3 separate regions of the Homo sapiens genome follow, and all the other regions are linked to region 1. Evidence: promoter capture Hi-C in 16 types of primary human blood cells and fetal thymus (Javierre and others, 2016). All regions are on one chromosome and are shown on one strand. Each heading gives the region's core, a stretch centred on a gene start or on the middle of the fragment in contact. The rest is flanking DNA. Distances are from core to core; before and after follow the strand shown. Region 1 holds the start of BAHD1 (bromo adjacent homology domain containing 1). Region 2 overlaps DNAJC17 (DnaJ heat shock protein family (Hsp40) member C17). Region 3 holds the start of C15orf62 (chromosome 15 open reading frame 62).

What was found. Contacts are between HindIII fragments. The CHiCAGO score rates a contact against its expected background, and 5 or more counts as called.
Region 2: a contact is called between a fragment that was not itself captured here and the fragment with the promoter of BAHD1 in region 1, in 1 of 17 cell types (naive B cells). The highest score is 5.8, in naive B cells.
Region 3: a contact is called between the fragment with the promoter of C15orf62 here and the fragment with the promoter of BAHD1 in region 1, in 1 of 17 cell types (naive B cells). The highest score is 6.3, in naive B cells.

The regions. Positions count from the first base shown.
Region 1 is chr15:40,439,443-40,442,362 of GRCh38, forward strand. It overlaps BAHD1 (bromo adjacent homology domain containing 1), which reads left to right and starts at 1,511. Exons shown (of 7, transcript NM_014952.5): 1 at 1,511-1,826. RefSeq lists enhancers at 217-754, 1,560-2,061, 2,062-2,561 and silencers at 1,217-1,886, 1,313-1,498, 1,947-2,006, 2,727-2,846, 2,867-2,920. The HindIII fragment of the contact is 2,346 bases long and covers 990-2,920 here.
Region 2 is chr15:40,788,648-40,791,567 of GRCh38, forward strand. The region is part of intron 1 of DNAJC17 (DnaJ heat shock protein family (Hsp40) member C17); the gene reads right to left. Among named protein-coding and RNA genes, the nearest start is that of ZFYVE19, 17 kb to the right of the region's middle. The HindIII fragment of the contact is 4,448 bases long and covers 1-2,920 here.
Region 3 is chr15:40,768,513-40,771,432 of GRCh38, forward strand. It overlaps C15orf62 (chromosome 15 open reading frame 62), which reads left to right and starts at 1,468. Exons shown (of 1, transcript NM_001130448.3): 1 at 1,468-2,920. The coding sequence starts at 1,984. The coding sequence ends at 2,511. The region is part of intron 10 of DNAJC17 (DnaJ heat shock protein family (Hsp40) member C17); the gene reads right to left. RefSeq lists enhancers at 129-747, 1,366-1,984, 1,938-2,027, 1,985-2,601. The HindIII fragment of the contact is 5,370 bases long and covers 1-2,920 here.

The sequences.
Region 1 (2,920 bases), core at 261-2,760:
CTAGGAAAGGCTGGGCGCTGTGTGTGGTGCAGGAGGAGCCCCTCCGAAGCCCCTGGGCCACACTCCAAGGCTGGGTTTTCCTTGCTTGCCTGGGCAGCCTCAGCACTCTGGGTGCCTCTCTCTGCCCAAGGCGTTCCTGGGGCCCAGCCCCTCCCTGGGCTGCTCCAGCGCTCTGGTGACTTGACACTACCCTTTCTGCCGCTGCTCCTTTTACCTCCTAAAGCTCCCCTCCCCCGCCTGAATTGGGAATGAGGCTTTGTTCAGGGGTGAACTCAGCATTTCTCGAGAACCTACTGTGTGCATATCCCGGGCTTAGTGAAGTCCTAGGCGGGCTCTGGCACCACCAGGTGCCCAAGACACAGCTCCTTCCCGCACCTAACAGGGACTTCCCATCTCTCTCTGTGCCCTTAGCCTGCTGTGCCCACCCACCCCACTGACCCCGCGAGCGTGCTCGGGCTTGGGAGGGCACGTCTGTGGGGGTGAGAGACGGAGCCACAGCATTTGGTGACTAGGGGGAAGCCAGGTAAGTGTCTACACTTGGTTCTCCCGTAGCTTGGGGACGCGAGGGAGGGAGTCCAGCCGCTCCTGTCAGGCTGCCCGCCCCTTTCTCCCTCCCCCGGAGAGCTCTGATGTTCCCCGCGGTGGTGGAAGAGGGTGTGTGGGTGTCAAGGACTCACAGACCAGGCTCTGCTGTCAGCTGGAAATGGATGAGGGCTCCACACTCTGCTTCTGAAGAGGGTGAATTAGGAGCTGGGGTTGGGGGCGGTAGGTGAAGGGCAGAAAGAGGAAAAAGAGATGCGGGTGAGGGGTTACCGAGCCAGGACCGACCTTGCTGGAAAGGAAAGGAGACGTGGCAGGCAGGGAAGTCGGAAAGATGAGGCAAGGGCGGGAGGGGCTTCTCAGCAGTCGGGGCCCTTTTGCAGGAGTCTGGGGCCCTTTCTGCAGGAAAGGGGGGTTGTTCTCGCTTGATTTTCGGCTGGTCTTCCTGAAGCTTTGCCCTGGGGGCAGCAGCCTCCGGCGAGGATGGGGTGTTCCTCGGCCCGCAGTTTTCTCCAGCGCGTGCTGGGGAGGATTTGGGGGAAAGGGGATGCGGAGGGGTGATGGCCAGGGCGGGGGGAGATAAGATTTTTCCGGGGGGGCTAGCAGCTGGGAGATTGGGGTCGAGTCACCGTGGGATACGGGCTCAGGTTCTGAAGACGAAGAGAAAAATCCAAGAAGCCGGCAAAGAAAATCACCCCTTGCCACCACCCTTGGCACGGCACCCCTCCCCCAAGGCCCCACCACTCCCCGCACCGCCTCCCCCGGCCGCCTCGTGCTGCCCCCTGCGTTGGGACGACCGACCCACGGTTCTGATTGGTCAGAGACCGGGAGGGGGAGCCGAGGGCCGGATTGGCTGGCGGAGCCAGCGCAGGGCGGGGCGGCTGATTGGCGGAGCTGGCCGAGGGGCGCGCTGCTGATTGGCTGGGGACGAGGAAGCAGGAAGGAGGGCGGCGGAGGCTCCGCTCTCGGGGAGTTTGTGGGGGAACCGCGAGCGGCGTAGCGGATCCCGGAGCCCGGCCCCCGCCGCCCGCCCGTCCGGCTGCCTGCCCCGCCCGTCCGGCCCCCGCCGTCCGCCCGCCCCGGCCAGGCGCGCCCGCCCCCCCCGACGGCCCCGCCCGGCCGCGGTCCCCGCTCCGCCCGCCCGGCCCCGGCCCCCAGGAGGAGGCGCTGACGCAGCAGCGTGGAGCCCGGGAATTGAGCGCCCCCGGGGGGTTCCAGCCGCCGGATTCCAGCCCGGCCGGGGCCTGCGGGCGCCCAGAGCCGCGCCGTCCGCGCCGCCCGTTCTGGTGAGTCAGGGGCCGGGGTCGAGGAGGGGGAAGGGGCGAGCTGGAGGGAGGGAGCGAGCGAGGTAGGCAGAAGAGCGAAGGGGGAGAGCACCGGCCGCCCGTCAGCGCGCCCCACCGAGCGCGCCGCGCCACCGCCCCCGCCAGCCCGGGAAGGGACGGACGGACGGACGACGCGAAGCAGGTGCGGCCGCCCGCCCGCTCGCGCCACCTCCCTCCCCTGGGTCCGGCACCACGGTCCCGCCATCGGGGAACGCGGCGCGCCTCGAGGTGACAGCCCCCGGGGGCCGCCCGCCTTGCAGGCCGGGGGCGGGGTGGGTGGCGGCCGCAGGGTGGCAGCTCGGCCGGGCGGCGGCGGCGCGGGCGTCCCGAGCTGCGGAGGGCGGGAGGACGCCGGTCTTTCCTCGCCGCGGCGGAGCCGGCTCGCCTCCGAGTGCGCGGGCGGCGAGGCCCCCGCCGCGCCCCCTCCCCCATCGCGGTCCCCGAGGCAAGGGGCCGCGGCCGGGGGCGGCGCCGCGGGATCGCCCGCTCAGGGTGGGGGGCGCCCTCCCGCGCTGGGAGCTGACCGGTTATTGCTGGATGGGGGGCAGGGGATGAGGGCCGCGCCGGGCCGGGGGCGGCAGGGGGGAGTAGTGTAGACCCGACTCGATCGGGCTGAGAGGAAGGGAGGCGCCGAAGACGGAAGGGGACCGGTTCGAAAAGCGAGTGTGGGCCGCGGGAGGCCCTGCGGGGACCTTGCGGGGCGGCGGCCGAGTCCGAGGTGTGGCGGGGGGAATCGAAGTTGTCAGACCGCCTCCAAGTGACAGCGGGACCCTGTGCTCGCGGCCCGGCCTGGTCTTGCCCTGCTCGCTCCGCCGCCTCTCTTCTGGGGCTGGGGGCCGGGTCAGGTCGGGCCCGAGGGGCTCGCTTGGCGGTGAAGCGCCGGACAAAGGCGGCGCCGGAGCGGGCGCAGGTGGTGGCGTCGGGGAGGGGAGCGGGTCCGAGGCACCCACTCCGAGGGGCGGGCGACGGGGCCGGACTCTGCCCCGGGGACTGCGGGGGCCGGGGCGCCCGCCGGGAGGAGCTGCGGCACTGGCTTGCCGCTCTAGCCGCTCGCT
Region 2 (2,920 bases), core at 268-2,767, 350 kb after region 1:
ATCATGCCACTGCACTCCAGCCTGGGCCACAGAGCGAGACTCTGTCTCAAAAAAAAAAAAAAAAAATTTTTTTTTAAATGAGCCAGGCATGGTGGCATGCACCTGTAGTCCCAGCTACTTGGGTGGGGCTGGGAAGGATTATTTGAGTCCACGAGTTTGAGGCTGCATGCCACTGCATGCCAGCCTGGGCAACAGAGTGAGATCCATCTCTTTAAATAAACATAAATAAATAAAAATAAAAGAGAAGTTCCCTGTGCCTGAAAGATTGATCCTTTCATTCCTTACAGCCTGTGACCCCTATTGGGACAGCACTACAGAGAAGTCCCCAAATGCCTGGGCACTGTACAACCTATGGGCTGCTCCCAAGGCTTGGCACAAGCAGAGAGCTGGCCAACCCCAGACAGCCCCCTCAGCTCAATGCTCCCAAAACATGGGCCTGCTGGTGGTACCAAGATAATACCAGAGAACCTGGGCCTCACACTGACATCCCTCTCAGGCTGATAGCCATGGCCCATGGTTCAGTCTCAGAACAGGGGCCTGTGCCACCTAGAACAGCTGGGACCACACACGGAGCCTGGCCTGCTTCTCCCCAAATGATGGCCCTTGTACGCCCTTTGGGCTCTGGTTCCTCAGCCAATCCTGAGGCCACTCTTTAGCTCCTCCCATCCCCCCGGATCTCATCTCCAGGTCCCCCTTCCTTCACTCCCCCACAGTACTCCCTCCTATCCTGCTCTCCTCGGTCCACTTCCCCAAACCAGCCCACTTGAAACCCAGTCTACAGCCCTCTTTCTCCTCCTCAGATACCACCCTGCTCTCTGGCCCACCTCCTCCCTTTTAACCTTATCCTAACCACCGCTATATTAGGCTCAGACCCCAAAAGCCTTTCCTACCTTCTCTCAGCTTGTAGATTCTCATGCCCAGATCTGCCAGAAACGTCTCCCCACTGCCTGCTGTCACTCTTAACTCCTAGAGGCCTGGGTCTCTAGCCCCAGAACCACTTCCTCTGCCCAGTCTCTGCCCTTTCCCAGGGGGTAGAACTCCTTCCCTCTGGGCCCTGGTACTTCCTACACCTCATTCATTTCTGTCTTCCCTTAATGCATTGTTTCCTTTATAAACAAATTTGTATTAGTAAAAAGAAATTAGTTGATTTCGGAAGTCTGAGGCAGGAGAATGGCGTGAACCCGGGAGGCGCATCTTGCAGTGAGCCGAGATTGCGCCACTGCACTCCAGCCTGGGAGACAGAGACAGACTGTCTCAAAAAAAAAAAAAAAAAAAAAAAAAAAAGAAAAGAAAAGAAATGAGTTGATTTAGTGAAAATAACTAAATAACAATACTTACGAACAGCAAAAATAGGGAAAGCGCTATGCAAATGGAAAACATTTTGAATGCCACTAACTTCAAGGAAATGGAAACTGTGCTATGGTAGTTTTAACACAAATCTTAACACAGTTCCTTAAGCTGTTCAGAGCAGCTTACTACCTGCTGGGTTTACCCAAGTCCCAGGCAGGTAAAATCTCTATCTGTGTTACAGATGGGGCTGCGAGACTCTCTGGGGCCCACAGACCCGTCTCCTGTTGCTCTAATTGGTCCTGAAGTGTGGGTCACGGAAAAAGTTCTCAAAGAGGAGTAGAAAATTCAGGTGTGGGCCGGGCGCAGAGGCTCACGCCTGTAATACAAACACTTTGGGAGGCTGAGGCGGGTGGATCACTTGAGGTCAGGAGTTTGAGATCAGCCTGGCCAACATGGTGAAACCCCGTCTCTACTAAAAATATAAAAATCAGCTGGGCATGGTGGCGCATCACATGCCTGTAATCCCAGCTACTTGGGAAGCTGAGGTATGAGAATCACTTGAACCCAGGAGGCGGAGGTTGCAGTGAGCCAAGATCGTGCCACTGCACTCCAGCCTGGGCGACACAGCGAGACTCTCTTTCCAAATAAAAATAAAATAAAAATAAAATAAGGTGGCAGTACCAGCCACCTTATGCTGGGCGAATCACTTAAATTCTTGGAGTCTTTGTTTCCACATCTAGGAATTGGTGCCAGTAGTCCTTGACCACCTCACAGGCTTGCTTTCAAGGTCTCATCAAATGAGATAATTTATGTGAAAGCACTTTGGTGTCATAGAAATGTGAGGTATTATCTTGAATGTTAATGAATCGCTTACAGCTTACAAACACAAATGAATCATTCCTTTTGACTTAACAGGCACCTAAGTAACTTCAAAAATCCAGAGCTTCAGCCAGACAGCTTTGGTGAAGAGTGATACTGAGGGGACTTGGAGATACTGAGAGGACTTAGAGACCAGCTGCTAGATCCACCCAGAGCTGGTCAGGCCCTTGGTGAAGAACAACTATCTTCAAGTGAAACCAGGCTTGGAAAAAATAACTTAAAATAAATAAAAAAAAATAGGCCGGGTGCGGTGACTCATGCCTGTAATCCTAGCACTTTTGGAGGCCAAGGTGGGAGGATCCCTTGAGCCCAGGAGTTTGAGATCAGCCTGGACAATGTAGGGAGACCCTGCCTCTAAAAAACCATAATAAATAAATAAACAAATAAATAATGTGGTAATATATTGAGGCTACAAAAAAAATTTTAAAAAGCTGGGTGCGGTGGCTCATGACTGTAATCTCAGCACTTTGGGAGGCCAAGGCAGGCGATCACCTGAGGTGAGAAGTTTTGAGACCAGCCTGGCCAACATGGTGAAACCCCATCTCTACTAAAAATACAAAAATTAACTGGGTATGGTGGCGTGTGCCTGTAGACCCAGCTACTCGGGAGGCTGAGGGAGAAGAATTGCTTGAACCTGGGAGGGGGAGGTTGCAGTGAGCCAAGATCGCACCACTGCACACCAGCCAGGGTGACAGAGTGACTCCATCTCAAAAAACTAAAATAAAATAAAATAAAAAACAACAGGCAGCTG
Region 3 (2,920 bases), core at 218-2,717, 330 kb after region 1:
ATGCCCGGTGCCCTGTGGTCTGGCTCTTGCTGAGGATGCAGAAGGGAGCCCTACCCGAGGCAGCCCGGAATGCCCCACCCTCGAAGGGGAAAAAGGCAAGCATGAGGCCAGCGTGCCTCTAAAACTACACACCAGGGCTCCTGGAGGGCAGGGCCCATAATCAAAAGAATAATAAACAACCATCTGAATGGGCCAAGGCTGTAGGGTGGAGAAGCAGCTCTACAGCGGGACCTAAGCTGCCAACCCACGCCCTGATAAGGTCTGCGGTGGGAATTAAACCTTTTCCTCCCTCGGTGCCGCTTAGGCTGTGTGATGATCATGTGGTCCCAACAGCTTCTCAGAGAAGTGTGAAGCACACCTGAGTTGGCACAGAAGTGAGCTAGGCCAGGGATTGCAAGATGCGGTGGCCTGCCCGTAGCAGAGAGCTGTGGGGCCCTGATCCGCGGTACCCCGCATGGGGACGCTGTCACAGAGCAAGGCAGGAGGAAAATGTGGTGGTCAGTGACCCGGGGAATAGGAAGGGAGCAGCTAGGGTTGAGATGCCAGGCCCTGGCCAGCAGGTTTGGAGTAAGGGGTGTAGAGAAACAGGAAGTGTTACTCAGCCTGGGTTCCCCTGTTCCTCCCGATGGCTGCACCCCTCCCCTCTCCCCGGCTGCAGCAGTCCCAGCTAGGCCGGACTGCTAAGCCTGGCCCAGAGCACGGCTGACAATTCACGGCAGCCTCCCTGGCCCAGCCTCCTGCAAGAGAAGGAGGACCCCAGAGGAAGCCCGGTAGCCAGAGGGGAAGGGCTGGAGCACAGCCAGGTAGGAGGCAACACGGCCCGGCCTTCAGCAGCCGCTCTCCTGGCAGGAGCCCTCTAGGGTAAAACAAGGGAGGACAAGGAAATAGCAGCCAGGCTGATGGCAGGCCAAGAGGAGGCCACATCTCCCATCCCCAGGTTAATGCTGCTCTGCCAAGAAAACTTGGAGCCACCCTTGGCGGGCCCCCAGCCCAACCCTGGGCAGCAGAGCCCGCCCATCACAGGCATGGCGCTGCTCCCCATTAACACACCCTCTGCCCCCCTTCCTGTTCCTGCTCGTGAGGGCCTGACAGCGGGGCTGAGTCACCCATACCAGCTACAGGTCTCTTCCTTCCCCAACAATCGTTCCACACGCCTGCCTTTCAATTAACTCCCACCCGCCCCGAACTCTTCCTACCCAGACACTGTGGGCAGGGAGCCAGGCGCACCTGCTGGGGGCCCAGGGTGGTGGGGCTGTGATCAGAAAGGAAGCCGCGTGGTGACACATAAAGCAGGGCTGCCCCCACACGAGTCCCCAGAGGAATCTTAAGCTCCCCATTGCCCTGGGGTGTTGGTCCCAGCTGCCCCATCCCTGCACGCGGATGCTGCAATTACCCAAGAGCACGAAACCTGGCTTCCCACCTGACTGAGTCAGCTGAGAACAAAAACACATCTCCACCGCCACAAACAGCCAGGCCACTCATCAGAGTCCGGGAGCCACTGGCAGAGAGGGCACGGCCCCACACTGCCCCAGAGACATATAGGAGCCAGGCAAACACCAGGGCGAGTGAGCTCGGGCCATCTGCTGCCTGCCTGTGGAAGGAGCGCTCGCCAGCCTCACCCAGCCCGAGAAGGTCCACCTCTGCCTCCGCCGGAGCTGCCCTCATTCTGGCTCCAGTAAGTGCTGCTTCTTCCTCCTGGGTTTTTTTCCACTACCCTATTCAGTAACCAGGCCACTCCTGTCCCTGTGGGAAACTCTTGCTGCCAGGAACTCCCAGCTGTCTGCTCTCCTGGGCAAAAAAGTTCCTTCTTCCTGAGCCCTCCTCTCACCATCCAAGATGTGGTCAAAGGTCTGTGCTGAGTGGAAACCCTGAGGCCTCTGCTCCTAGGGGAGCCTCCCCAGCTGCTGGCACTCACTGCCCCAGCAGGGACCACATGCACCCTGGCTGCTCCTGAACACCTGTCTGCTGGCTCCCCTGGGCCCCATGGAGACCTGGCGGAAAGGCTCCTTCCGCAACGCCTCCTTCTTCAAGCAGCTGAGCCTGGGGCGGCCACGGCGGCTCCGGCGACAGAGTAGTGTGCTTAGCCAGGCCAGCACAGCAGGTGGGGACCACGAGGAGTACAGCAACCGAGAAGTCATCCGGGAGCTACAAGGGAGGCCAGATGGCCGGCGCCTGCCACTGTGGGGGGACGAGCAGCCCCGGGCCACCCTGCTGGCCCCACCCAAGCCCCCACGCCTCTACCGAGAGAGCTCAAGCTGCCCCAACATCCTGGAGCCCCCACCTGCCTACACAGCAGCCTACTCTGCCACCCTGCCATCGGCGCTCTCTCTGTCGAGTGCCCTCCACCAGCACTCAGAGAAGGGCCTTGTGGACACTCCCTGCTTCCAGAGGACACCTACCCCAGACCTCAGTGATCCCTTCCTCTCCTTCAAAGTGGACCTGGGGATTTCACTTCTTGAGGAAGTTCTGCAGATGCTAAGGGAGCAGTTTCCTAGCGAGCCCAGCTTCTAAATGGGGTGAGGGTGGGCAAAGCCGGGGTGACTGGAAGATCCAGAGGCTGGGGATTAAGGAAAGGACAGGGACAGGACTCCAGGCCCATCGCTGGAGGGTTCAGGCAGGCAGAGCTTCTTCATCCTGGGGGAGGATTCCAGGATAGGAATCCAGGGCTCTGCCTGCTCTCTGGGTCCTGGACAGTCCTTCCAGGCACCCCAGAGTGGAGGGACAGAGGCAATCTGGAAATGTTGGGGGGGCGGCCCTTCCTGGCAGGACCCTGAAGAAAGCTGGCTATGCCGGGAAAGGGAGGCTGTGCCGGGAAAGGGAGGCTCTGTGCGGCACTACAGGAACCAGGTAGAGGCTGGCAGAGCCAGAAGGTGGCACGGGGTCAGATCAGGGAGTGGGAGGACACAGACTGAGCAGAAGA